3 separate regions of the Homo sapiens genome follow, and regions 2 and 3 are each linked to region 1. The links are contacts of gene promoters, found by promoter capture Hi-C in blood cells and fetal thymus (Javierre and others, 2016). All regions are on one chromosome and are shown on one strand. Each heading gives the region's core, a stretch centred on a gene start or on the middle of the fragment in contact. The rest is flanking DNA. Distances are from core to core; before and after follow the strand shown. Region 1 holds the start of EMP1 (epithelial membrane protein 1). Region 2 overlaps GPRC5D-AS1 (GPRC5D and HEBP1 antisense RNA 1). Region 3 has its middle 10 kb from the start of FAM234B.

Evidence for each region. The method cuts DNA at HindIII sites, captures the fragments that hold promoters and counts their contacts. A CHiCAGO score of 5 or more calls a contact.
Region 2: a fragment that was not itself captured here is called in contact with the fragment with the promoter of EMP1 in region 1 in 4 of 17 cell types (monocytes, megakaryocytes, M2 macrophages and 1 more); the score reaches 7.2 in monocytes.
Region 3: a fragment that was not itself captured here is called in contact with the fragment with the promoter of EMP1 in region 1 in 3 of 17 cell types (megakaryocytes, monocytes and endothelial precursors); the score reaches 7.4 in megakaryocytes.

The regions. Positions count from the first base shown.
Region 1 is chr12:13,194,919-13,198,376 of GRCh38, reverse strand. EMP1 (epithelial membrane protein 1) reads right to left here and starts at 1,651. Exons shown (of 5, transcript NM_001423.3): 1 at 1,505-1,651. The HindIII fragment of the contact is 10,564 bases long and covers 1-3,458 here.
Region 2 is chr12:13,004,692-13,008,149 of GRCh38, reverse strand. The region is part of intron 2 of GPRC5D-AS1 (GPRC5D and HEBP1 antisense RNA 1); the gene reads right to left. It also overlaps the pseudogene HTR7P1. Among named protein-coding and RNA genes, the nearest start is that of HEBP1, 6.2 kb to the right of the region's middle. The HindIII fragment of the contact is 5,436 bases long and covers 1-3,458 here.
Region 3 is chr12:13,032,234-13,035,691 of GRCh38, reverse strand. No RefSeq gene overlaps it. Among named protein-coding and RNA genes, the nearest start is that of FAM234B, 10 kb to the left of the region's middle. The HindIII fragment of the contact is 5,242 bases long and covers 1-3,458 here.

The DNA of each region.
Region 1 (3,458 bases), core at 402-2,901:
TGTCATTCTCATCTTGTTTACTTGGGGAAAAAATATACCAGTGTCTATGTTGAAATGGGCCACACCTCGGTAGACACTCACCCAAAATGCTAACCGAAAAAAAGAAAAAAAGAAAAAAAAGAAAAAGCACCCTTCTTCATTCCTCCAGATTTCATGATTAGCATGAGTGTTTGCATTTATACAATCACATTTCGGGAACAAGAGAAAAGATAAGCATTTCAAAACAATCACTGCCTTCCATGCAAAGAAATTCCACATCCACTTTCTTTTAAAAGTTCTTTTATCGTTTCTGGTATGCCATCTTTTCACTCAGCACTGAAAGGCAGCTCTTTCTGGGGTGAAAGCACAAAGCCACTCAACAATTTTTAACAGGCACAGATGAAGTTCTCCTGCCCCACCCTCTTCTCCAAACCCAGCTTCCCTTTTGCCTCCCCCGCCCTCCACATCTGGCCAAGAGAAGGCATCTGGAATCCTCATCAGCTCCTGCTTCGACCAAGTGAACCCCTCCCACGTTTCATTTAAAACACCATTTGCCTCCCTCTCTTTCTCTCTCTAACAGTTTTCTTTTTTCATTTTTTTTCTTTTTCTTTTTTTTCCTTTTTGAGACAGAGTCTCACTCAGCTGCCCAGGCTGGAGTGTAGTGGCGCAATCTCAGTTCACTGCAACCACCATCTCCCGGATTCAAGCAATTCTCCCGTCTCAGCCTACCAAGTAGCTAGAATTACAGGCACCTGCCATCATGCCTGGCTACTTTTTGTATTTTAGTAGAGACAGGGTTTCACCATGTTGGCCAGGCTTGTCTTGAACTCCTGACCTCAGGTGATCCGCCCGCCTCAGCCTCCCAAAGTGCTAGGATTACAGGCATGAGCCACCGTGCCCGGCCAACAGTTTTCTTTAAACAAACCAATCCCCCTCTTCCCATCCTGTGAGGAGAAAAAAAATACTTAAATTTAAACAGAAGTGAATAGGGAAGCAAACAGGCAGGAAAAGCAATGTCAAAAATAAACTGAAAACCAGTTATCTATCCACCACCACCCAAAAAATCCCAACCAACAACCAGCGAGCAGAGTAACAGTTCAAGTCCTGAAGCAATCGGAATCAAAACGGAGGAGGTGAAAAACATCTGGCCAGTTCCCGATGTCATTTCCAAGGTGTGTGGTGTTTCCTCCATAAACAGGATCCTATCCCAGTTTGTTTCAAAGTCCCTGCTCCCTCCACATCCTAGAACAAGAACCCGGTCACTGCCAGGCACGATTTTAGCCCCATCCCATTGATTTCCCCAGACTCCGTCCTCAAAATACACTTTTCTGAACTTTCTAGAAAAAGTTGTCTCTGTATCCACTTTGAGCCAAAAGTTTCAAGGACTTGGTTCTTAGAGGATCATAGAAAAATAGCGAAGGAAGAAAAGAAAAAGCAAAACTAAGATGAGGTCAGAAGAAGCAGAGCCGTGGAAAGGAAGGAGAAGTTTTGCTGAGAGTCCCCACAGCGTTGGGAGCTGTCCTACCTGAAGGGTCCCAGCGACAGAGGCGCTCTGAGTGGCAGGTGCTGGCAGCAGCCCTGGTCCGCTCTTCTGGAAGTATGTGACCGCACTGAGGGGAAGGACCTGCCTCCCGAGGTTATAAGTTTCCTCTGCTGGTGTACTGGGGTGTGTAATGGGCGGTTTCTTTTCACCGTGTTTTAAAGGAGTTTCTATGAATCAGTCTGGCTTTAAAAAAAAAAAAAAGATTTGTTGGTAAGCTACGCCCTGCTAAGCTGGCAGTCAGTCAAGAGTGGCTGGGAGTGAGCCATCAATTCAAAGAACCCTGTTGTAGGCTCTCTCTGACTCAGACACACAGACCACAGTGGAAAAAAGGAGGGACATTGCTTCAAATGAGTAACAGGATCACACAAATAGATCTGTTTACTGAAGCCCATTCCTCCTCACCAAAAAGGAGACTTGGTTACCATGGACATAAGGCAAAACACAAGGTTTCAGCCTGGGAGGGGGAGGAAAGGGGCCAGTGTCCTGCTGACTGAAGTCCTAGGTCATCATCAAGCGAGATTCCCAGTCTTCCTCCCCCATTAAAAGCATCAGCTGCTGCTCACTGTCAGGAATTATCAGATTCCTTTTTTTATTTACTTCCCTGCCTGACCCTGGTGCACTGTCCTGTGGGTGGCTGTACAGGGAGGCCCTGAAGGCGAAGGGGACACACTAGGAGCTCTTGCAGCCCTGCCTCTGAGTGATGGAGCACTGATTGAACAGCAGAGAATTCCTGGTCTTTCATTATGCTCTGCTAGTGCCCGTGTGGACTCTCCACATTCCAGGAGGAAGTCCTCTAGTTAAGAACTTTGCTCTCTGTAATAATCAGCTGGACCTTGTTCTACAATTGACTTTCTTGAACTTGGCCAGTAGCATAATCATCCCTACTACCTCCCTGCACCACTCCTCTCTCTCTCTCAACTCTGGAGCTGGGAGAGGCCTGTGAAGTCATCTCATCCCACAGCCCAGGCATTCCACTGGAGAGAGTAAAAGCCCAGATGCCTGAGTTCAAGCCCAGCTCTCCACAAATTTGCTGTGTGACTTTAGGCAAACCACTTAACTTCTCCATGCCTATTTTCTCATGCATAAAATGGAGATGGCAGGTATGTAACTCATAGAGCTATGATGAGAAATACACATATAGGGGCTCATGGCAGTGTGCATAGTGAGCGCTCAACAAATCTTAGCTACAAGGATTATTTTACTGAAGAAGCAGCTCAGGCCCAGAGAGGTGAAGTGACTTATTCAAGGAGATACAGTACGTTACCAGTAGCAGCTTGGATCTAGGTCAGCACATCCAAGCAATTCTATTTCTGTTATTCTCTGCTGCACCCTGACAACTTATTTCAATTCAAAATATGCGTGTGTAGTATTTATTCATTCATTCTGCCAATACAGGCTGCACGTCAGTCTTCACTGGGCCTGATTCAGAGCACTGAGTCACAGAAGTGAATGACATCCCTGCCTCTTGGAACTTATATTCCCTAAAAAGATAGAAAACAGACTGGTGGCTATTCACCAAAATGTTGATCAAATTCGATGATAAAATTATGGATGCAGTTTAGTTTGTTCTGGTCACAATTCTGTATTTTCCAAATCCTCTGCAATGAACCTATATTACTGTCTTTAGGATGTTGGCATGTGGATGGATGGATTTTAGGAAAAAATATTTTAACATGGGAATGTGGAGAATATTTTCTAAGGTGGATGATAAGGAAAACACAACACACACACACACACACACACACAATGATTTGATGATGCTGCATCTTCACAAGTCCCTGAGAACTGAATTCTATCTCTGTAAAAGTAAGAAGGTCTGGATTTTCTCACTGAAAACTGATGACGTGATAAAAGACTGCATGTTTCTCATAGAGTTCCTCACCTCTCCCCTCTCTCATTGCTCATTTGATAATAAAAATGCCTGTCTGAGAGGGGC
Region 2 (3,458 bases), core at 672-3,171, 190 kb after region 1:
GGAAAGAATGGTGGTAGCTGTTCTCTCCTGCTTCCTGTTCCATCATTCTCATAACCTATTTCACAGAGAAAATGAAAGCCTTCTGACAGGAGCTCCCATAACTTGCCACCTCCAACCTCCGTAAGTACATAGGCAGACACCCACCTTTTCCTCCCTCTCTCCTCCTATGATGGGAGAGATGTCTAACCACCCATGTTCTTATTCATATCTGATTTTGTTTTTTGTTTTTTGGGTTTTTTTTTTTTAGACAGAGTCTTACTCTGTTGCCCAGGCTGAAGTGCAGTGATGCAATCTGGGCTCACTGCAACCTCCGCCTCCTGAGTTCAAGCAATTATCATGCCTCAGCCTCCTGAGTAGCTGGGATTACAGGAATGAGCCACCACACTGGACTAATTTTTGTATTTTCAGTACAGACGGGGTTTCGCCATGTTGGCCAGGCTGGTCTTGAACTCCCGACCTCAGGCAATCTGACTGCCTTGGCCTCCCAAAGTGCTGTGATTACAGGCATGAGCCACTGCGCCCGGCATCTAAAATATTTTTATTTCTTTCAGAGCTGCTATCTGTCATATGATGCTATACAAGGTTACAATTTGGTATCTTATTGCTACAAAGAGTCTGTGTTTTCAGCCTTAAGATTTAATGTTAATACTGGTCAGTTGTGCCTGAATTCCAAAAGGAGGAAGGTATAATGAGGCATGATGGGACCCCCACTTCCCATCATGGCCTGAACTAGTTTTTCAGGTTTCTTTGGAATTCCATTGGCTGAGACGAGGGGTCCATTCAGTCGAGTGGGGGGCTTAGAATTTTTCTTTCAGTTTATACACACTCAACAGTATTCAATCATAATACCTAATAAATTGCAAAGGAAAATGTCTCACAGCATACCAAATTCTTCAGATAAAGAAAGACACCAAATAGCTGGGCATGGTGACTCATGCCTATTATCCCAGCACTTTGGGAGGCTGAGGCGGGCAGATCACCTGAGGTCAGGAGTTCGAGACCAGCCTGGCCAACATGGTGAAACCCTGTCTCTACTAAAAATACAAAAATTAGCTGGGTGTGCGCCTGTAATCCCAGCTACTTGGGAGGCATGCGCCTATAATCCCAGCTACTTGGGAGGCTGAGGCAGGAGAATCACTTGAACCTGGGAGGCTGAGTTTGCAGTAAGCCGAGATCGTGCCTGGGAGACAGAGCAAGATTCCATCTCAAAAAAAAAAAAAAAAAAAAGGCAAGACACCAAATAATCTGGACTTTAAAATGATGCTTCCCCACAATGCTCTTGAAGCAGCAATGTTCAGCCCTTGGTAGCAGGACAAACTTGACCACTGGTGTGGGGAGAATCTAGCCCTTAACAGTGTATACAGTGCTTTTTATTGCCTGGACTCCTTTAATCCTCCCGACAGCACTGTGAGCTGGCATTATTACCCCAGTGTTGCAGATGTAGAAAGTGAGTTCTGAGGCCAGGTGCAGTGGCTCACACCTGTAATCCCAGCACTGTGGGAGGCCGAGGTGGGAAGATCACTTGAGCCAAGGAGTTTGAGACCAACATGGGCAACATAGCAAGACCCTGTCTCTAAATTTAAAAAAAGAAAGAAAGTGAGTTCTGCAGAGGTTAGGAAATTTGCAGAAGAAATATTCATTACACTGGTAGGACAGAGCCAGATTGGAATCCCCATCTTTTGACCCGATGTTTTCTGATTCCCAAATACTTCCGCTACTTGACCATACTGAGTAATAGAGCCCATTGCACTGTATATAGTTTAGTAACTAAAATAGATGACTAGCTCTAATATCAAGAATGTTTTAAATCATTCCACACTTACTGAGCATCCTCTGTGTGTGGCTAGTGAGGGAAGTGCTAAAGAAAAATAGATCTTGCCTTTTAAAAGATTAGTTTGTTATAAAGGAGGTATGGTTGTGAGCAAAAATACTCAAGAGACCCTTACAAAGCAACCTAAGAATCTCTTATGAACTCCAAGCTGCATGCTATTTCACATTTTAATGTCTCTGGATGCATTTAAAATCAATTGAATGTCATAGTTTACTTAGTAGCATTTGTTTTTTTTCTTGGTGGCACATAAAATAACAGGGCCTGTCTTATAATCAATAGCATCTTAGAGTCAAGGAACTATGAAATAATTAAATGGCAATTTACTTTATAGCAATGAACAAATATTTGTCAAAGGGCAAATATTTTTTGTCTGGAGTTAATAAAGTTAATATCTTTTACCACAAAGCTAGAGGTCAACAGTACCACTATTATTGATTGCCACTACCTGGCTCCGGCTCAACTTCCCCTTGCTCAGGAGGAAAGCACAGCAGGCAATCCCTCAGCTCTGGTTTAGGGCAGCTGCCACAAATTAGTCTGACAATTAGGTTAACAATTTCAAATGACAATGCAACCAATGGGTAAAACATGCATAAAGAATCCTCATAAAGGCCAGGCAGGTTGGCTTAATTTAACCACTTTGGGAGGCGGATGGAGGAGGATCAACTGAGGCAGGAGTTTGAGACCAGCATGGGTAACATAGTGAGATTCCCTTCTCTGCAAAAATGTATTAAAAATTCACTGGCAGTAGTGGTGCACACCTGTAGTCCCAGGTAGTCAGGAGGCTGAGGTGGCAGGATCACTTGAGCCCAGGAGTTCTAGGCTGCAGTGAGCCATGATCGCACCACTGCTCCCCAGCCTGGGTGACAGAGCAAGATCCTCTCTCAAAAAAAGAAAAATAGGCTGGGCAAAGTGGCTCACACCTGTAATCCCAGCACTTCGACAGGCCAAGTTGGACGAATTGCTTGAGCCCAGGAGTTTGAGACCAGCCTGGGCAACATGGAGAAACCTTGTCTCTACAAAAAATAGAAAAATTAGGTGTGCACCTGCAGTCCCAGCTACTTGGGAGGCTAAGGTGGGATGAGCACTTGAGCCAGGGAGTTCGAAGCTGCAGTGAGCCAAGCTCATGCCACTGCACTCCAGCCTGGGCAACAGAGTGAGATCCTGTATCAAAAAAAAGAAAAGAGAATCCTCAAGTAGGCAGAATATTAGAACAAATGAGATGACAAGAGAGTTCAGACAGGACCACACAGTGTTCATGGACACAGTGTTTGAGGGACACTTTCAGAGAAGTCAGTTTCAAGGAGTGAGTCCAAGGGGGAAGCTGGACATTTAGAAAGTATTTGGAAAGCAGTGCCATATGTAGATGTAGATACAGGTCGGAAAAGCCAGGGTGACAGAGTACAAAGCATTATGGACGCTGACAACACAGACATGAGTTCAAATCCTCACCAAGCCACACATTAGTTGTTGCCTGGGAAAGTTACTTAATTGTTTTAAGCCTCAGTTTCCTCCTTTTTATTATTTTTAGTTTTTTCAGCTACAAATAGACTTTATTTGATGTAATGTAATAAAACATTTTCAAGTTTAACAATATGTATCTGACCATAAACAATCACTTAAATTATGA
Region 3 (3,458 bases), core at 613-3,112, 160 kb after region 1:
ACCAGCCTGGAAAACATAGGGAGATTTCCCACTCTACAAAAAATTTAAAAATTAGCTGGGCGTGGTAGTACACACCTGTAGCCCCAGGCTGAGGCAGGAGAATTGATTGAGCCCAGGAGGTCAAGGCTGCAGTGAGCCATGATTGCACCACTGCACTCCAGCCTGGGCAATAGAGCAAGAACCTGTCTCAAAATAAATAATAAATAAATAGGCCAGGCACGATGGCTCACGCCTATAATCCCAGAACTTTGGGAGGCCGAGGCAGGTGGATCATTTGAGGTCAGGAGTTGGATACCAGCCTGGCCAACGTGGTGAAACCCTGTCTCTACTAAAAATACAAAAATTAACTGGGCATGATGGTGGCATCTGTAATCCCAGCTACTTGGGAGGCTGAGATAGGAGAATTGCTTGAGTACAGGAGGTGAAAGTTGCAGTGAGCCAAGATCACGCCACTGCGCTCCAGCCTGGGTGACAGAGCAAGAATCCGTCTCAAAAAATAATAAATAAATAAATATAAAAATAAATTATCCCTAACACACAATCATGCTAAATACTATCCATAGTCTCACTCCTACAGAGTTAACACTTTCAGCTTTCTTTATTTGAAGCACATTGTTTAATGTAATTTTATGAATGACCTAAGAATTACTTCTTTTTTTTTTTTTTTTTTTTTTGAGACAAAGTCTTGCTGTGTCACCCAGGCTGGAGTGCAGTGGCGCAATCTCGGCTCACTGCAAGCTCCACCTTCCAGGTTCACGCCATTCTCCTGCCTCAGCCTCCCAAGTAGCTGGGACTACAGGCGCCCGCCACCACACCCAGCTAATTTTTTGTATTTTTAGTAGAAACAGGATTTCACTGTGTTAGCCAGCATGGTCTCGATCGCCTGACCTTGTGATCCGTCTGCCTAGGCCTCCGAAAATCCTGAGATTACAGGCGTGAGCCATCGCGCCCAGCCAAAAAATACTTCTTAAGTATTTTTCATTATAATCTTGCCTCCAAGATAATCTAATAAAACCTGATCATCTTTAACTTCTGGCAGCTTTCTGGGTTTGGAAGCAAGCATGGTTTGTCAACCTGGGGTTTGATGTGAGGCTTAATTTCTCTCTAGGATGACATTTGAGGGTTTTTGTATTTGTTTTGTTTTGGTTGTTGTTGTTTTTTGTTTTTGAGATGGGGTTTAATTTTGTTGCCCAGGCTGGAGTGCAGTGGCACGATCACAGCTCACTGCAGCCTCAACCTGCTTGGCTCAAGCAATTCTCCTGCCTCAGCCTCCCAAGTAGCTGGGACTATAAGTGTGAGCCACCATGCCTGGCCCAGTTGAGGTTCTGAGAGGAATAATCACAATGGCAGAGCTAAAAATGTGCATGTAACCACAAACTAGAGAGAGTTGTGAGACAAATAAATCTACTGTTACCTTTGCCACCGCAAATAGTTTTATTTCTTCTTTTATGTTTTATTCCTTCCAAGAGTTTATCTTTAAGGAACTAAAGGCTCTGGAACTTTTCAAGGACCTCTGTATGAAAAGCTACCTTTTACTTGTCCAGTTCATAAAATCTCACTCACTTCTATTTCTTCTTTCTTACCATAAATATTCTCCTTTTATATTTTAGTCTTCAAGATCTGGGAATTTTATTCTTTAATCAAATGATTAATTTTTGGTCTCTTACCCCAGCCTTAATGACCAAAGGAGGATTGTTTAGATTTTTCTGAAAGGTATTTCCTAACACAAATCATTTTCTTTCTTTCTCTGACTCAATTTTTAAAACCCTAGTTTTATTCTTCTCCTGAGAGATTTTGCATGAAGCTAATCTTTTTTCCACTTCTGCAATCTTAAAGAACAACACTGGTCTGATTTGAAAAGATATTTTGTGATAAATTTTTCCTCATCATTTTTTAGGGGAATACTTATTCCCCAACCCTCAGATTCCCATGTGGAACGGTTTTCACTAGAGTATCTTGTGAGTCTCCTGACTAGTGTTCAAAGGAAGGAAGCAGGTCATGCTTAGCATAGCTGCTTCCCCTTGAGACTCATTCACTGATTCATTTTTAAAATTACTTATCCAGGCTGAATGCAGTGGCTTATGCCTGTAATCCCAGCACTTTGGGAGGCCAAGGCAGGCAGATCACTTGAGCCAGGAGTTTGAGACCAGCCTGGCCAACGTGGTGAAACCCCATCCCGACTAAAAATACAAAAATTAGTCAGGCATGGTGGCGCGCCTGTAATCCCAGCTATTCAGGAGGCTGAAGCAGAAGAATCGGTCAAAGCCGGGAGGCAGAGGTTGTAGTAAGCACCACTGCACTCCAGCCTGGGCAACAGAGTGAGTGACACTCCATCTCTAAAATAAAATAATATAATATAAAAAATAAAATTATTTATTCAACAAATATTTGAGCAGTCATTACTGAAAGGCCCTATTCTAGATGCTGGGGATGTCAGACCAGACAAAACAGACAAAAGTCCTTGTCCACATCATGTATGTTTGTGGGAACTATGAGGTCAAGCAGAGAAGAGAAATAGTTAAGTAAAATATATGCTGTGTCAGATGGTGATAAGTATTACAGAAAAATAGAATAGAGAAGGGGAGATGCAATGTGGAAGTCGCAGGGAGTGGTGGGCAGATGTCCAATTTTAAATAGGATGGTTAGGGAAGGCTTCAGTAAGAGGATGATATTGGAAGAAAGATCTAATAGAGGCATCATGAATAAAAAGAACTTGGAGGCAGAAGCATACCTGTCCTGTTCGAAGACCAGCAAAAAGGCTGCCAGAAAGGATAGTTTTTCTTCTTTTTTTTTTTTTCTTTTTTTTTCTGAGACAGAGTCTTGCTCTGTTTTCCCATGCTGGAGTGTGGTGGTGCTGTCTCCGCTCACTGCAACCTCCAACTACCAGGCTCAAGCGATTCTCCTGCCTCAGTCTCCCGAGTCACTGGGATTACAGACACCTGCCACCACACCTGGCTAATTTTTGTATTTTTGTATTTTTAGTAGAGATGAGGTTTCACCACGTTGGCCTGGCTGGTCTCAAACTTCTGGCCTCAAGTGATCCACCCGCCTCGGCCTCCCGAAGTGCTGGGATTACAGGTGGGAGCCACCGCGCCCAGCCAGGAAAGGATGGTTCTAGGGAGAGATTAGAGATTAGATGAGGTCAGATATGGCCAGAGTAGGAACAGATTCTGTAGACTTGGTAGGGAAAATAAAGACTTTGGCTTTTAGTCTAGATTAAATAGAGAGACTTTGAAAGCCTTGAGGCACAGAAGTGTTTATTTGACTTAGATTTTAAAAGTGTTCCTTGAGATCACTTTGCTGTTCTGAGAACAGACTGTGGGGGTACTGGCAGTGATGAATCACTTTTGACTATTACAATGACCCAAGCCAGAACTGATGGTGGTTTAGACTAGGGTAGTTTCTTTGAGGGTGGGGGGAAGTGGTAGGATTCTTAACTTAATTTGAAGGTAGAGCCG